3 separate regions of the Homo sapiens genome follow, and all the other regions are linked to region 1. Evidence: promoter capture Hi-C in human tissues and cell types (Jung and others, 2019). All regions are on one chromosome and are shown on one strand. Each heading gives the region's core, a stretch centred on a gene start or on the middle of the fragment in contact. The rest is flanking DNA. Distances are from core to core; before and after follow the strand shown. Region 1 holds the start of KLRG2 (killer cell lectin like receptor G2). Region 2 overlaps HIPK2 (homeodomain interacting protein kinase 2). Region 3 overlaps FMC1-LUC7L2 (FMC1-LUC7L2 readthrough).

Region 1 (3,189 bases), core at 25-2,524:
CTGACAGGAGCTCTTTTCAAACTGATGTCTTATCCTTCTTAGTGCCTCAAACTAGATCTTGTCGAGACATGTGATAACAAGTTAGTACAAATTTATTTTGGTGCCAAAAAATTTTCAAATCCATGCATAGTTTTTTTCATAGTATGAATTTTCCATGAACCTTTTGAAGACCGCTTGTATAGAAAAAAACAGTATATATAGGGTTTGGTGCTATCCAAAGTTTCAGGCATTCACTGGGAGGTCTTGGAACTATCCCAGTGGATAAGGGAGGACTACTATGCTAAAAACTATCCCTTGTTTAACTGAAATTCAAATTAAACTGAGTGGCCTGCATTTTATCTGCCAACCCTACCCTGGGGGCACTTAAAAATACCAGAGGCCAGGCGGGGCGCGGTGGCTCACGCCTGTAACCCCAGCACTTTGGGAGGCCGAGGCGGGCAGATCACGAGGTCAGGAGATCGAGACCATCCTGGCCAACATGGTGAAACCCCGTCTCTACTAAAAATACAAAAATTAGCCGGGCGTGGTGGGGTGGGTGCCTGTAGTCCCAGCTACTCACGAGGCTGAGGCAGGAGAATCGCTTGAACCTGGGAGGCGGAGATTGCAGTGAGCCGAGATCGGGCCACTGCACTCCAGCCTGGCGACAGAGCAAGACTCCGTCTCAAAAAAAAAAAAAAAAAGAAGAATTGCTTATCCACGCCCTGTTTCTTTTCTCTTAGCGTTACTCAGTGGGGGAGTCCTCCCAAGTATGATGGAGAGTCCTTTCGAAACCCTGCTGGATTGTCAGGACAACCAACTGGGCTACTTTTCCACAGGTCGCCCCAATTCCTTTGGATTCTGATTTCTCTGAGGTCCCAGGATCCAGACAGGCTTGGCCAATCCTTCCCCGCCCAAACTGTAACTCTCAAAACCAACACCCCGGCATAGGGCTGGAGGGGAAAATGGGTGAGGTCAGAGACAAAGAAGAGGGAAGGGTCAGGCGGGGCTCCGGGTTCCCTGCCACAAGCCTCCGCTGGTGTTCTGCTTTTCTCCCGAGAGCTCCCGCCCACCCTGCAACCCTCGCCTGGCCCCGCTGCCGTTCTCAGCTCCCTCCCAGTGCCTGGTGGAGGCCGGGGCTGTGTCCCGAAGGGGGTCGGGGCAGCAGAACCTCAGCCACAGCCAATCACAGCGGGGTCCTTCGGGGAGGGGCGTGGCCTGACAACTTCGGCGACGCGGCTGGACCAATCCGGACGGAGGAGAGCGAAGCTCCTCTGCACTGGGCCCAGGTGCGCTCCTCAGCGTCTCCGGGTGGCGGGGCGCGCGGGATGGAGGAGTCTTGGGAGGCTGCGCCCGGAGGCCAAGCCGGGGCAGAGCTCCCAATGGAGCCCGTGGGAAGCCTGGTCCCCACGCTGGAGCAGCCGCAGGTGCCCGCGAAGGTGCGACAACCTGAAGGTCCCGAAAGCAGCCCAAGTCCGGCCGGGGCCGTGGAGAAGGCGGCGGGCGCAGGCCTGGAGCCCTCGAGCAAGAAAAAGCCGCCTTCGCCTCGCCCCGGGTCCCCGCGCGTGCCGCCGCTCAGCCTGGGCTACGGGGTCTGCCCCGAGCCGCCGTCACCGGGCCCTGCCTTGGTCAAGCTGCCCCGGAATGGCGAGGCGCCCGGGGCTGAGCCTGCGCCCAGCGCCTGGGCGCCCATGGAGCTGCAGGTAGATGTGCGCGTGAAGCCCGTGGGCGCGGCCGGTGGCAGCAGCACGCCATCGCCCAGGCCCTCCACGCGCTTCCTCAAGGTGCCGGTGCCCGAGTCCCCTGCCTTCTCCCGCCACGCGGACCCGGCGCACCAGCTCCTGCTGCGCGCACCATCCCAGGGCGGCACGTGGGGCCGCCGCTCGCCGCTGGCTGCAGCCCGGACGGAGAGCGGCTGCGACGCAGAGGGCCGGGCCAGCCCCGCGGAAGGAAGCGCCGGCTCCCCGGGCTCCCCCACGTGCTGCCGCTGCAAGGAGCTGGGGCTGGAGAAGGAGGATGCGGCGCTGTTGCCCCGCGCGGGGTTGGACGGCGACGAGAAGCTGCCCCGGGCCGTAACGCTTACGGGTGAGTGCTCACCTGCGCCGGCAGCCGACGCCGCCAGGTCGGGTGGACGTAGCCGAAACCCCCACACCCGCCCAGCCCTGGACCGCTGGGCAGCTGACCGACTAAGGGACCCAGTTGGCCATCCCGATCCCCAACCCGATCTGGCCTCTCGGGCTTACAATCAATAACATTCCTGTCTACGTAACTGTAATTCACATTGTTGCCGTGTCTCACGCCTGTAATCCCAGCACTTTGGGAAGCCGAGGCGGGCGGATCACCTGAGGTCAGGAGTTCGAGACCAGCCTGACCAATATGATGAAACCCCGTCTCTACTAAAAATACAAAAATTAGCCTGGCATGGTGGCATTCACCTGTAATCCCAGCTACTCAGGAGGCTGAGACAGGAGAGTCGCTTGAACCCGAGAAGCGGAGGTTGCAGTGGGCCGAGATCATGCCATTGTACTCCAGCCTGGGCAACAAGAGAGAAACTCCGTCTCAAAAAAAAAAGAGTAAAGCCACTCCCCTTCTCATCCTCCCCTACCCGCACTCCCGAACTTTCAAATTCCCTCTTAGCATGCGCAGCACCTTTGAGAAGTAGCAGTGGAAGGAACTCCAGATGAGGGGAAGTCATTCAGGATCAGGTGGCAGGGGTGGCAGCCCAGATCCCCCCATCCCTGCACTGCCAAGGACTTTCTGGAAGGTCCAGGCTGCTGCTTTCTTTCCACCACACTGAGGAACATTTAGCCCCAAACACTCATCCATTCAGTAGATAGTGAGTGGGACCACAGGGTAGATGTGCCAGTAGTATGTGCGGCTGGTTATTTTGTGGTGTGGGGGAGGGGGAGCTTGACACAGAAGAAAGAGCCCACAAAAGATACAGACTGTCCTGGATAAGGAGACTGGAGGGAGTAGTTGGTGAATTTGGGGCAAGAGATAGCCAATTTTTTTCTTTTTTTCTTTTTTCTTTCTTTTTTTTTTAAGAAATAAGTTTTGCGCTTGTCACCCAGGCTGGAGTGCAATGGCACAATCTCGGCTCACTGCAACCTTCGCCTCCTGGATTCAAGCGATTCTCCTGCCTCAGCCTCCTCCCGAGTAGCTGGGATTACAGGCGCCGGCCACCATGCCTGGCTAGTTTTTGTATTTTTGGTA
Region 2 (2,916 bases), core at 24-2,523, 86 kb before region 1:
CTCTTCATAGTAAATAACTCTGAAATATGTGAATGTGAATGGCAGGAGAATCTGGCCAAGGATGGGGCCGAAAAGGGTGGTTCTAATTGTTTGCTTCTGATGTTGAGTCTTTAGCTGACCCCACAGGCAGGTTTCCAAGGTGCAAAGAGATCTTTCCCGAGTCAGCGGCCCCATCCTCATCCTCCCTCCCTTTACTTCCTCACTGTGCAGTCTCCCTCAAGGATCTACTGTGAAAGGTGTGTTTGTAGTGATATCCAACCTAACTCAGTAACGAAGTCGTTACTTAGCTCTTAGCTGTGAAATAACTCTGGAAACTTCCCCACCCCAACCATAAATTCTTACTTATAAAGAAACAGGTCCCCAAACTGGAAACAGCTTAGTCCAGGCCTCAGCGAGAAGGAAGGACACCATGACTGCTCCATGCTGGGCACAGCCGGGCAGTCTTGCCAAGTGCCTGCTGGAGGCTGTGCCGGCAAGAGGCCTGCAGCAAGGAGATTCCCTTCCCTCGGGCCATTATCAATACTGTCTTTATCTGGAGGTGGGGAAGCGCAGCCCTCTGAGACAGCAGGACAATGGTCAGTTCAGAGAGGGTGAGGGCAGCAAACGCTTCAGAGGACACAGAAGCCAGAGGACCCCCCCCCGCCCCACAGCTGGGTCAGCCTGGAAAATCCATCTATTAGGGACTTTTTGGCAGCCAGATGGCAGCAATAGCCCATTAGGTCTCATCCCGAGTTCCAAGTCTTGGCTGCAAATGAGCCTCAGTTCGCCTTACTGGAGAGCACCCCCAGATTCCTGGGCACAGTTCATTTCCAGCCCTTTCTAGATCTGATCTTTTAGGGGGAAAGACAGCTTAAAATGTTCTTTTCATTTTAAAGAAAATTATTCTGTCTGCTTAAGTTGGAGGCTACTTACTCTTTCACCTGACATTTTCTTTCCTTTTATTCTTCCAGATCAGGAATGAAATTTCCATGCTGCTCATAAAGATAATATTATTGTACTAATTATTTTTATTACCATTGTAATTATGATCATTATGTTGATATTTTAGTCAGGGTTTTAAATGCACATTTATTCCAAGTATCTTTGTGTTTTCTCTTTAATATTTAAACTTATTCTCTCTGTGAGTATATAAGTAGACTGGAGGGACATCCAGATGTCCAGTTTTGTCAGGCAAAAAAAAAAAGGAAAGACTTAGGAAGTAGGAAAATTGTTTCTGTCATCTCTATCCCAACAAGAGACGTCAAGAAAGATCCACCACAGAACAAAAGTTTAAAGAAGAATCAAAGCCTTGATTGGGCTTCTGACAACATGGTCACCATCAAGGTTGTCATTTTCTAGATCCCAGAGGCCTGGGATGCGACGTCAGGTGGCATCTCATGGGCTCGGGGAATGTCGAGTCACTGACTGTCCAGCCCTTAGCCAGCTTCTCTCCCACATCCTCAGAGCTCTCCTGTGCTTCTGAAATCTGTTAACTAAATCTTTGGCTTGCCTCTGGTATTTAAGCAAGAAAATTCCCTCCCAGAGGTGACCCCATCCGCTTCCCCACAATCCATCCTTTTGCCATCGGCGCACCTGGGGCGTGGCTTAGGTTCTTCAATGCAGGGACATTTGCCCCCTCCCAGAAGCTGCTGGGCACAGTGAGGTGGCGTAAGAGTGACTGGCAGGTGGTACCTTCCCCAGGAAATTTCACCACACCACCCAGTTCCTCAGCCTGCCCCCTCCCCCTGTGATGCATGCCCCCAGCACCCAATTCTAGCCAGCTGGAAGTGGGTGGAGGGACAGCAGGAGGCCAGAGAAACCCTGAACAAAGCTGGGCGGCTGCTCAGGCATCACAGGCTGCACCCCCTCTGAAAGCATCCCCACTGGGCTCCGGCCACATCTTCAGTGCACTGTGCTGTGTGCGCTGGGTGCTCACACGCTGTCCCCAGACCCACAAAGTGCTAGGCCCCAGTTGAAGAAAGGGGTGAAATAGCCAGCTTCACCGAAGGGAAGGGAAGGGAAGTATTGGGCGATGCCAGCCCCACAGACGCTCAGCAAACATTAGTGCACATTCTCCTAGTCCTCACCCAATGGCCTCCTCTACCCCCATGCATGGAGCTGCCACATCAGAAGCCCCAAGAGAAGCTCCCTGCAGGAGAGGCCAGCTCCCTGGATGCCCAATTGCATACCTGGCCGAATCTGCCATTGAGTCACCTTAGCAAATAGGCTGCTGTCACTAGGACCAAGCTCTCAAGCAGAGGGATGCCAACCTAGTCCTTACTTAGCCCACGAATCATCTAGAGCATCCTCTAGTCTTTTGTGGGCTCCCTCCTTCCCATTTGAAGAGACATTGTTCAGAGGAAGAGGGGAAGATTTGAAATGTCAGGTCACGGAGGAGTGTTTAACTGGAGCCTGGTGAACCGCAGGGCAATTTGCTTCTGCTCACTGGGTTCTGACTGGCCCGTCTGGACGTGGGCCCCCATGTCTCTGTGCTTAGGGCCTCTTCATGATGTTTTGGATGTTTCCAAGGGAAGTGGGTGAGCAGATCAAGGGGTGGGAGAGTCGAGGCTTGATGCCAGTTAATACTGTGAAGTGGAGCGTGCGGTCAGTGGAATTCAGAGGAAAAAGAAGGGTTGGAGCAAAGCGGCATTCATCTCCTGGACTGTTAGCCTTTCTAGTCTTCCTGGTGGCTGAGGTGTTCACGGGCTGGGGGAGCCAGCTGACCTTTGTCCTCTTCAACCTAGAAGACTCAGCCCGCCCAGACACCAACGTGTGAGACGGATGGACATCAGGAAGGGAAGGGGAGATTAGCCCAACTGCTGACAGAACGATTTCCCTTGGTTGGACCTTGGGAATGGCAAACACTCATATTGGAACAAGCTTGGGGTGGAAGATTTAGGCCGTGTGAGCATGTGTGAGTGAGTGGAACAAACTTTC
Region 3 (2,883 bases), core at 369-2,868, 90 kb after region 1:
TGGTTCTCAACTTAGACCTGGGGAACTTTTACATAATATTGATGGAAGCTTTTAAAAAACAGTCCCAATTCCTACCTCCCAAAGACTGACTGAATTGTAAAAGCCCCCCAGGTATTTTTAATGTGCAATGTTGAGAACCACTCACTGATCTAGTTTTAGTCCCATTCTTTGCACAGAAAGAATGACTTGCTCAGGGTGCTTATCAGAAAATCTGGTTAGACTGATTCCTAGTCTAATATTGCTTCCACTTTACCATGCTAGTTCCGGTTATTTCAGTACTAACTTACCTTTCAATATTTTTCAGTAAGTCATTCCCCACAACATCTAAGAAAGCTCACCACAGAGATTCAAAGCAGCTGTCTACTTCCTTTCTTCCGTATCTCCTTTATCTTACTTTCATCAGTTCCCTGATCAACTACATTTCCAATCCGTATTCAACAAAAACTTAAAAGTAACACATAAATTTTGCCTCATTGTTTTTAACCTAAACATCTCTGTCTCTATTGCAATAATTCTAGGCTCCCTGCCTCCACTTCTTTAAAGTTACATCACACAACCAACCAAAGGAAGAAAAGCAACTATGTAGACTAAGAACAAAATGAACACAAGAAAGATACAATTTTACCACTATAGTAGAGGTGGACTTTTTGGTGAGAGTAGCCTTTTGGGGAAGGCATGCCATGGGGAAGATGCATGAGAGGGGTAAGATTAACTCACTAAAATGTGAGCTCCATAGGGCAAGGATTCTTCTGTTTTATCTACGATGTGCCTATGTTGAATAAATCAAACTAGGAAAGAGGGCAAAGAAGAACATTTGGCACAGGGCGGCTTATTAACAAGCCAGAGTGGTCAAGATGAATTCCAGGACAAAACTGATCTGAGCTTCTGGAGGGAGGTTCTTCTTAGCCTCTCCTTGGATTATCTCTTTTGCTTGGACTCCTTACCTTCTTAAGTGTTTTGAGCTATTCTTCTTTTTTCCTCCAAGAGGCAGGCTAGTTGGGCTTGTCACTTTCTGGGCTCTAAGTCCTTGCAAGTTTATAGCCTAGCCTGACTCATCATAGTAGATTTTGGTGTCAAAGCCCTAGGACCAAGGGCCTAATTATAATAAAGAAGGCTTTTTTGTATGTGGAATATCCTCAGTGGTTATCTCTTCAGGGACCTAGTGGGACAGTAGGTATAGCCAAGGCAGATTTTCAGAATACTAGTCATCTATATTCCTCTGTCCATACCATGATGACTACTAAGCATCTACTCTGGCACTGTGCTATGCACATGAGAAGTACTTAAAATTTAAAACATGGTCAGGTGTGGTGGCTCACTCCTGAAATCCCAGCACCTTGGGAGGCCAAGGCAGGCAGATACTTGAGGTCAGAAGTTTGAGACCAGCCTGGGCAACACGGTGAAACCCCATCTCTACTAAAAACACAAAAAATAGCTGGACAGGGTGGCAGGCACCTGTAATCCCAGCTACTCAGGAGGATGAGGTACAATAATCACTTGAACCCAGGAGGCAGAGGTTTGCAGTGAGCTGAGATCGTGCACTCCAGCCCGGGAAACAGAGTAAGACTCTGTCACAAAATATATGATTATTTATTTATTTATTTTTACTTTTTTAGAGACAGGGCCTCACTCTGTCCCCCAGTCTGGAGTACAATGGCATGATCTCAGCTCACTGCAACCCTACCTCCCAGGGTCAAGCAATCCTCCCGCTTAAGCCACCTGACACCTGAGTAGCTGGGACCAACAGGCACACATCACCATACCCGGCTAATTTTTTGGAGACAGAGTCTCGCTCTGTTGCCCAGGCTGGAGTGCAGTGGTGCAATCTCAGCTCACTGCAACCTCTGCCTCCCAGGTTCAAGCAATTCTCCTGCCTCGGCCTCCCTACTAGCTGGGATTACAAGTGTGCACCACCACACCTGGCTAATTTTTGTATTTTTAGTAGAGTTGGGGTTTCATCATGTTGGCCTGGCTGGTCTAAAACTCTTCACCTCAGGTAATTCAACCGCCTCGGCCTCCCAAAGTGCTGGGATTACAGGCGTGAGCCACCACACCTGGTCTTAAAATTTTTTTTTTAATTTAACAAGTAGTTGCTGGGTGCAGTTGCTCACGCCTATAATTCCAGCACTTTGTGAGGCCGAGGCGGGCAGATCACCTGAGGTTGGGAGTTTGAGAACAGCCTGACCAACATGGAGAAACCTCGTCTCTACTAAAAAAATACAAAATTAGCCGGGCGTGGTGGTGCATGCCTGTAATCCCAACTACTCGGGAGGCTGAGGCAGAATAGCTTGAACCTGGGGGGCAGAGGTTGCGGTGAGCCAAGATCACACCATTGCACTCCAGCCTGGGCAACAAGAGCGAAACTCCATCTCAAAAAAAGACAAGTAGTTTACTTCATAATTAAATTCCTTCCACAAGCTTATTCTTGGTTTTTAATATTTTTACATCTAAATGCTTAGATTGTAGATTTTTTAAAAAATGCTTATTTGTAATTAAGTTCAGTTCTGCATTTTGTCTTCTCCATTCTGAATCCATTACTGCATGAAATGTGGACCAAATAACTATACCTGATCCTGGTAACTTATAGCTCCACAGCATTTTATATTGTTTTACTAACAAAGGTAACAAAGTTAAATCGTCAAGAATTTTTAACTTTTCTTTTGAAATTCCAAAAGTGAATGTTATTTCCCCAAATAAACTCTTAAGCTTCATTAGAAAAATGGTCCATTTTTCTTACTTATCCCTCCCAGAAGACCAGGTTTTGCACAAACCATGACTACTGAATAAACCTGATAATTTGACTAAGGAATTCTATTTCTAAGGAATTAAGAGTGAAATAATTATAAAAAGATAAATGGAGAATAAAGTTTAACAATGTTGTTT

The links. The method cuts DNA at HindIII sites, captures the fragments that hold promoters and counts their contacts. A contact is called where the count stands out against the background at its distance.
Region 2: a fragment that was not itself captured here is called in contact with the fragment with the promoter of KLRG2 in region 1 in 2 of the 25 tissues and cell types used here (heart left ventricle and neural progenitor cells).
Region 3: a contact is called between a fragment that was not itself captured here and the fragment with the promoter of KLRG2 in region 1, in 2 of the 25 tissues and cell types used here (mesenchymal stem cells and spleen).

Annotation. Positions count from the first base shown.
Region 1 is chr7:139,481,758-139,484,946 of GRCh38, reverse strand. KLRG2 (killer cell lectin like receptor G2) reads left to right here and starts at 1,274. Exons shown (of 5, transcript NM_198508.4): 1 at 1,274-2,061. The coding sequence starts at 1,305. RefSeq lists silencers at 1,105-1,164, 1,625-1,904 and an enhancer at 2,035-2,114. The HindIII fragment of the contact is 6,160 bases long and covers 1-3,189 here.
Region 2 is chr7:139,568,008-139,570,923 of GRCh38, reverse strand. It overlaps HIPK2 (homeodomain interacting protein kinase 2), which reads left to right. Exons shown (of 15, transcript NM_022740.5): 15 at 1-2,916. Among named protein-coding and RNA genes, the nearest start is that of CLEC2L, 46 kb to the right of the region's middle. RefSeq lists enhancers at 1,333-1,833, 1,834-2,334. The HindIII fragment of the contact is 8,657 bases long and covers 1-2,916 here.
Region 3 is chr7:139,392,162-139,395,044 of GRCh38, reverse strand. All of the region lies in intron 3 of FMC1-LUC7L2 (FMC1-LUC7L2 readthrough), which reads right to left. All of the region lies in intron 2 of LUC7L2 (LUC7 like 2, pre-mRNA splicing factor), which reads right to left. Among named protein-coding and RNA genes, the nearest start is that of LUC7L2, 34 kb to the right of the region's middle. The HindIII fragment of the contact is 3,512 bases long and covers 1-2,883 here.